2 separate regions of the Homo sapiens genome follow, and region 2 is linked to region 1. Evidence: promoter capture Hi-C in 16 types of primary human blood cells and fetal thymus (Javierre and others, 2016). All regions are on one chromosome and are shown on one strand. Each heading gives the region's core, a stretch centred on a gene start or on the middle of the fragment in contact. The rest is flanking DNA. Distances are from core to core; before and after follow the strand shown.

Evidence for each region. The method cuts DNA at HindIII sites, captures the fragments that hold promoters and counts their contacts. A CHiCAGO score of 5 or more calls a contact.
Region 2: a contact is called between a fragment that was not itself captured here and the fragment with the promoter of DHX58 in region 1, in 2 of 17 cell types (monocytes and M1 macrophages). The highest score is 6.0, in monocytes.

Annotation. Positions count from the first base shown.
Region 1 is chr17:42,111,087-42,114,772 of GRCh38, forward strand. It overlaps DHX58 (DExH-box helicase 58), which reads right to left and starts at 1,628. Exons shown (of 14, transcript NM_024119.3): 1 at 1,519-1,628; 2 at 1,027-1,119; 3 at 639-807; 4 at 210-411. The coding sequence starts at 806. KAT2A (lysine acetyltransferase 2A) reads right to left here. Exons shown (of 18, transcript NM_021078.3): 14 at 3,404-3,518; 15 at 3,272-3,308; 16 at 3,133-3,196; 17 at 2,914-2,998; 18 at 2,025-2,756. The coding sequence ends at 2,563. RefSeq lists enhancers at 1,136-1,235, 1,476-1,995. The HindIII fragment of the contact is 8,851 bases long and covers 1-2,039 here.
Region 2 is chr17:41,978,791-41,982,252 of GRCh38, forward strand. DNAJC7 (DnaJ heat shock protein family (Hsp40) member C7) reads right to left here. Exons shown (of 14, transcript NM_003315.4): 12 at 3,065-3,217. Among named protein-coding and RNA genes, the nearest start is that of CNP, 14 kb to the left of the region's middle. The HindIII fragment of the contact is 4,055 bases long and covers 1-3,462 here.

The DNA.
Region 1 (3,686 bases), core at 378-2,877:
AACCGAGGCTCAGCTGGGGAAGGGACTGGCCTAAGATCCTACACGATAGCCCGGCCTGTTTCTACTAGAGTGCCTGCAGGGGTTTTGTGAACAGGCAACCCCTCACTCCCACTAAAACTCCCAACACCTTGACTCCAGGAGGTGCCCTGGGGTTGGCGAAAGGAGGTACCCCAGATGCGTATCTTTTTCCTCCCGGCCATGGCCCTCACCAGTGAGCTCCACGTGCTCCTCCTCCTCGGGGCTGGTCAGTGCCATCTGCAGAAGCTCTGCTGTGCAGATGAGCAGGTCATGGCACCGGGCCAGGTGGCCAAAGCCAGCACGTGGTCCCATGTCCCCACTCAGGGTTGTCACGGTCCAGCGTCCATCCAGCATGCGCCTGAACTCTTCACCATGCTGGGTCACCAGGTGCACCTGGGGGTGGAGAATGAGCTGGGAAAAGAGAGCTGAATCTGGGGCCAGGGGTAGGGAGGCGGTAAGGTGACCCGCAGGACATGGCTGGGTACTGAGCCAGGGTGGAAAGACAGGTGAGCTTAGCGATGGCCACAGCAGCTTTGGAGTTCTGGTGGGGACTGGGAGATGCCTGAAGAGCTAAGACCCTGCTTGGTGGTGGGAGAGCGGGGTAGGGACAGACCACTCACCCTGTTGACCAATACAACCACCTTGGCTCCATCCACAGTCTCTAGGTGCCGCTTGGCCACATAAGCAGCCGCCCGGGTCTTCCCGGCACCCGTGGGCAGCCAGATGATGATATTCTTGCCCTCCAGGGCAGGCATGATCACCTCCCATTGGTAGGACCGAAGCTCCATTCTGGGAATGGCAGGGGACTCAGACCCACCGACTCCTCCACCCCTCCCAACTCCTGGCCAGACCAGTCAGTACAGAGACCTCCCTTTGCCCAGGACTCCACCCCACTTGAGGGAGGTGGGGCAGGACTCCCTCAGAACCCATCAGGACCCTGCTCTGCCCAAAAGGGGGAGGCGGGAGTAACACAGGCTACACCTGCCCCCTGCCCAGCCCAGGACTCACCTGCTCTAGTAGGTAGGTCTGCCCAGGGCAGTCCCACTTAACTCAGCCTGGTGCCACTCTGCTCAGCTCAGAGACCCAAGATGGAAACTGAAACTGAGGGAAGGAGCCAGCTGAGCCGACTTAGGAATCTCCCATCCCCGCCCCAGGAAAAAGAACCAAGAGAAAAGAACCGTTTGTGCTAACAGTCATCGCCAACTGCCGTGAGTACAAACTCCGGTTAAGTACTGCTGCTGCGCCAGCGCCCTGGCAGGCATGATCACCTCCCATTGGTAGGGCCACAGCTCCATTCTGGGAATGGCAGGGGACTCAGACCCACTGGGCCCTCCACTCATCCCAACTCCTGGCCAGAGCAGTCGGTACAGAGACCTCCCTTTGCCCAGGACTCCACCCCACTTGAGGGAGGTGGGGGGGGGGACACCCTCAAAACTCATCAGAAGCCTGCTGTGGCCAAAAGGTGGGGGTGGGGGGGGGTGGGAGTAACACAGGCTACACCTGCGCCTTGCCCAGCCTGGGTCTCGCCTGCACCACCACGTAGGCCTGCCCAAGGCGGCCCTGCTTAGCTCAGCCTGGTGCCGCTGTGCTCAGCGCAGAGAGCAGAAATCAGAAATGGAAACTGAAACTGAGGGGAGGAGCCAGCTGAGCCGACTTACGAATCTCCTATCCCTGCCCCAAGAAAAAGAACCACGTGTGCTAACAGGGAAGCACTCTTTCAGTGCTACAGGATCCTCTACGCTCTGGCCCTTCTGCAGTCAGTTGTAACCACATCCACCCAGGTTAAGGTGAAGGCAGGAGGTTCTGACCCCTGCTGCCCTGGCATCTGGATCAGGAGCAGCCTGGAGGAGGGAGAGGTGGGGGGCTGCAGGCAGGTAGGACCCATCACCCCAGGAGCACAGGACCAGGCCTGAGGCTTGCTGGGGAGAGCAGCCTCCAGTTTGCAAGAGGTCCCTGGGGGCCAAGGTGAGCCTGCTAAGGCTGGGACTACACCAAAGAAACAATCACACAGAGAAATAAAAAGCTTTATTATTCCCTCTAAGGGATTAATGCCAGGGAATGAATGGTCCCCATACCCCCCACCCCTGGGGGAGACTGACAGAACAGTGCTGGACAAGGCATGGCCCCCTTCAGTTTGGGCTGAACTTCCAACCCCTGAAGCCATCACTCAAGCTAAAATGAGCAGTTCTGGTCCTCAGGGAAACAGCCACCTGGGCCAGGCCCAGGAATCCAAGCCTCCAAAGCTCTTGGGGACCAGGCCTGGGGGCCACCACGGCTGGGCAAGGTTCATCCCTGGCCACCAGCTACTCTAGAGGGGCTGGGCCCCAACCCAGGAGACCTCTCACACACAGTGAAGGCTGGGACAGAGCTGCACGCTTGGGGGTGCCTGAAGGTCCAGAAAGAGCTGCAGGATCGGGTCCGGAGGACCCTTGGCTGGAGTGTCTCAAGCTGAGTCGGGTCCGTGGGGCCAGGGCACCCCCTAAGGATCAGATCAGAATCCGAGGTGGAGACATTCCAGGTCAGGGCTGCGGCCCAAAGATGGGCCTACTTGTCAATGAGGCCTCCCTCCTTGAGCTTGAAGTAGAAGAACTTCTCCAGGGCGCTGGCACAGCGGCAGTACTCGCTGTCCGGGGGGTTGTACTCGCGACAGTTGGCGATGACCCGCTGCAGGTCGGCCACAAAGAGCTTCCGGGTCACGTAGTAGCGGCTTCGCAGCCGCTCAGTCATGGTCTTCAGGTCTGGGGCAGCAGGAGACGGAGCACAGCTTTAAGAGGCTGAAGACCACGGCAGGGCTGTCCACCAGGGTGGGCCCCCTGGGGCTGCAGGGCGCAGTGAGGGCAGGAGCAGGTGTGGGGACAGAAGAGGAGGGAAGGGGATGGAATGGAAGGTCCTCACCAATGGGGAAGCGGATGACCTCGTAGTAGTCAGGGGCCTCCGACTTCTTCACAGGCTCCATGAAGGGCCAGGCACTGGGGTGAGACTGGAGAGAAGAGCCGGGCTGGGGACAGCCCTGCTGCGCCCACGCCAGCCCGAGACCACTACCCACCCCACACTGCATCAAGAGGCCACAGCCATTGGTGCAGGGGCCCTGGAAAGGAAACCTGGTCTCCCCACCTTGATTTGGGCCAGCAGGTTTTTGAGGGTTGTGTAGAGCTGGTCGGGGTCCTTCAGCTCCTTCCTGGGGCGAGAGACACCAAGTCTGAGGCTCCAAGTCCCTCTGCCCCACCCCCAACCCGGCTCCTTTGACACTCACCCCTTCTCCTTCCCCAATGGCTTCCAGCCTGTCTCTCCTGCAAAGTGGGAAGTGGGAGAATGTCTCTAAGAATGCCAGTCCACACCCCAAGCATCGTGCCCCCACTACCCTGCAACTGAGACCCCTGCTTACGAATGCCAGGAACGCTCTCCACAGGGATCTGCCTCACGCCCTCCTTGAAGCAGCTGAGCCCCGGGTAGACCTTGCGGATCTGGGCCTGTTTGCGCTCAATCAGCTTCTTGATGATCTGAGGGAAGGAAGGGACTGAGGGGCCAACTCCAGCCCCAACAACAACCCCTCCCAGGGCCACAGTCGGAGCCACTGGCTGCACCCACCCAGCTGCAACGCCACCTAATCCAGCACCTCCCCTCATAACTTCCCCAAGGGAGCAGAGCAAGAGCCAAGATCCTGGCCT
Region 2 (3,462 bases), core at 218-2,717, 130 kb before region 1:
AATGGCGTGAACCCGGGAGGCGGAGCTTGCAGTGAGCAGAGATCGCGCCACTGCACTCCAGCCTGGGCGACAGAGTGAGACTCCGTCTCAAAACAAAACAAAACCTCTTCACTAGTTTTTGACTGCTTATAGATCTTCTTAACTGCTAGGCAGAGGAACATGTTTATTGTGGTGAACCTAGGTTTATTAAACACAAATACCCCCACACTGAACTGGAGAGGACTCAGCATTATCTATATAGTACCATCATTCTTATTTTAAATTCCGGCTGGGTGCGGTGGCTCACGCCTGTCATCCCAACACTTTGGGAGGCCAAGATGGGCGGATCACACAAAGTCAGGAGTTTGAGACCAGCCTGGCCAACATGGTGAAACCCCGTCTCTACTAAAAATATAAAAATTAGCCGGGTGTGGCTGCAGGTGCCTGTAATCCCAGCTACTCAGGAGGCTGAGGCAGGAGAATTTCTTGAACCTGGGAGGTGGAGGTTGCCGTGAGCTGAGACTGCACCACTGCACACCAGCCTGGGTGACAGAGTAAGACCATGTCTCAAAAACATAACAACAAAAAAAAATTAAATAAATAAATAAGTTGCAATGGAAGGCCAGGCACAGTGGCTCACGCCTGTAATCCCAGCACTTTGGGAGGCCAAGGCCAGTAGATCACTTGCGGTCAGGAGTTCAAGACCAGCCCGGCCAACATGGTGAAACCCTGTCTCTACTAAAAATATAAAAATTAGCTAGGCATGGGGGTGGATGCCTGTAATCCCAGCTGCTCAGGAGGCTGAGGCAGGAGAATTGCTTGAACCCTGGAGGCAGAGGTTGCAGTGAGCCAAGATGGCACTACTGCACCCAGACTGGGCTCAGTCTTAAAAAAAAAAAAAAAAAAAAAAAGGCCGGGCGCGGTGGCTCACGCCTGTAATTCCAGCCCTTTGGGAGGCCGAGGTGGGTGGATCACGAAGTCAGGAGTTCCAGATCAGCCTGGCCAATATGGTAAAACCCCGTCTCTACTTAAAATACAAAAATTAGCTGGGCGTGGTGGCGCACACCTGTAGTCCCAGCTACTCGGGAGGCTGAGGCAGAAGAATCACTTGAACCCTGGAGGCGGAGGTTGCAGTGAGTCGAGATGGTGCCACTGCACTCCAGCCTGGGTGACACAGCAAGACTCCGTCTCAAAAAACAAAACAAAACAAAAAACAAAATCCCAATAGATTTTCTTAGTGGAAGAGATGGTAGGTCTGTTCACCATTCACAGGTCAGGTCCTCTTTTTTTTTTTTTTTTTGAGACAAGTCTTGCTCTGTCGCCAGGCTGGAGTGCAGTGGTGCGATCTCAGCTCATTGCAACCTCCGCCTCCCGAGTTCAAGCGATTCTCCTGCCTCAGCCTCCCAAGTAGCTGGGACTACAGGCGTGCGCCACCATGGCTAGCTAATTTTTGTATTTTTCATAGAGACGGGGTTTCACCATGTTGGGCAGGATGGTCTCAATCTCTTGACCTTGTGGTCCGCCCACCTTGTTCTCCCAAAGTGATGGGATTACAGGCGTGAGCCACCATGCCCAGCAAATTTTTTGGCAGACAACTTAGAGTGAAGACTGACTGAATTAATTAATTAATTTTTGAGATGGAGTCGCACTCTGTAACCCAAGCTGGAGTACAGTGGCGCAATCTCAGCTCACTGCAACCTCTGCCTCCTGGGCTCAAGAGTTTTTGGTGCCTCAGTCTCCTGAGTAGCTTGGACCACAGGCATGCACCACCATGCTCAGCTAATTTTTTTGTATTTTAGTAGAGAGTACAATTTTTTTGGTATTTTGTATGTTGCCCAGGGTGGTCTTGAACTCCTGAGCTCAGGTGATCTGCCCGCCTTGGCTTCCCAAAGTGCTGGGATTACAGGCGTAAGCCACCGCGCCCAGCTCACAGGTCAGGGCCTCTTATCTCTGACAGCCCACAGTGAGCAACAATATTGACAATAGGTGTGCTTTATATCATGCTAAATCTTTTTGGGAAATTAAAATCTGTGAGTGTTTATAGGAATGTATGACATACATAAATGTCAGCATACACTTTGCAGTGGGTAAAAAAGAACTTCCAGATAATAGGAAAATGCTCATATTCCTTACCACATACAGCCCTTATGGCCTGTGAGCTCTGATCCAGCTACTTGCCGGCCTTCCACCACCACCTGCCTCTAGCACCCTATCCCTTTATCTTCCCTAGACCAAGCCCCCTGCAGATCCCCAAAGAGGCCATGCTTTGCTTTTTTAGTGGGGAGGGATGGAGTCTCACTCTGTTGCCCAGGCTGGAGTGCAGTAGCGCCATCTTGGCTCACTGCAACCTCCACCTCCCGGGTTCAAGTAGCTGGGATTACAGGTGTGCACCACCACACCTGGCTAATTTTTCTTTTTTCTTTCTTCTTATTATTTTTTTTAATTGAGACAAAGTCTTGCTCTGTCGCCCAGGATGGAGTACAGTGGGACAATCTCGGCTCACTGCAACCTCCGCCTCCTGGGTGCAAGCGATTCTCATGCCTCGGCCTCCCGAGTAGCTGGGATTACAGGCGCCCACCACCACACCTGGCTAATTTCTGTATTTTAGTAGAGACGAGGTTTCACCATGTTGGCCAGGCTGGTCTCAAACTCCTGACCTGGTGATCAACCTGCTTTGACCTCACAAAGTGGTGAGATTACAGGCATGAGCCACCGCGCCCAGCCTAATTTTTGTATTTTTAGTAGAGACAGGGTTTCACCATGTTGGCCAGGCTGGTCTCAAACTCCTGACCTCAAGTGATCTGCTTGCCTTGGCCTCCCAAAGTGCTGGGATTACAGGCATGACCCATGGGGCCATGCTTTTCTGCACTTCCAAGCCTTCCCTTGCTAGTGCTCGCCTCCTCAGAGCTCACTGCACACTGTGAACCTGCCACATTTGACTGCATTTGTTTGACTCCATGTCTATTACTGTTTGGACCAGGGATCAGATTTGGCCCAAATAGACTCTCCCTCTGGAGCATCTTTGGAAAAAATTCTAACATTCTACAGCTGTCAAATTCATCCCAGGCTGCCCCAGCCAACTCACCACCCATATTCATGCCCTCCTCATCTAGGTCCTGTCCACTGTCATAGCGAGTCTTTTTCTTGGGATCAGAGAGGATAGTAAAGGCCTCTCCAACTTCCTTGAACTTCTTCTCCTCCTCCTTCTGAACCTCAGCACTGGCTCCACTATGCCGATCTAAAGTGGGGAGTAAAAGAACAACTCAGTGGAAATCAAAGTTTCAAGAAAACAAAGTTTAAGAGAAAAACTACTTTCTGTCTAATTTTGGAATTTGGCACTTCCCAAAATTTGGAGGGTCCACAAGTCTGCAACACCTTATTCTCAGCTGAAGGACCTCTCCAAGGGGTCCCCTCTGGACTGAGTGTGGCAGTTGGCCTGCCCTGCGGGTTCTTCCCACTGAGCCCACTCCCCGCACCTACTCT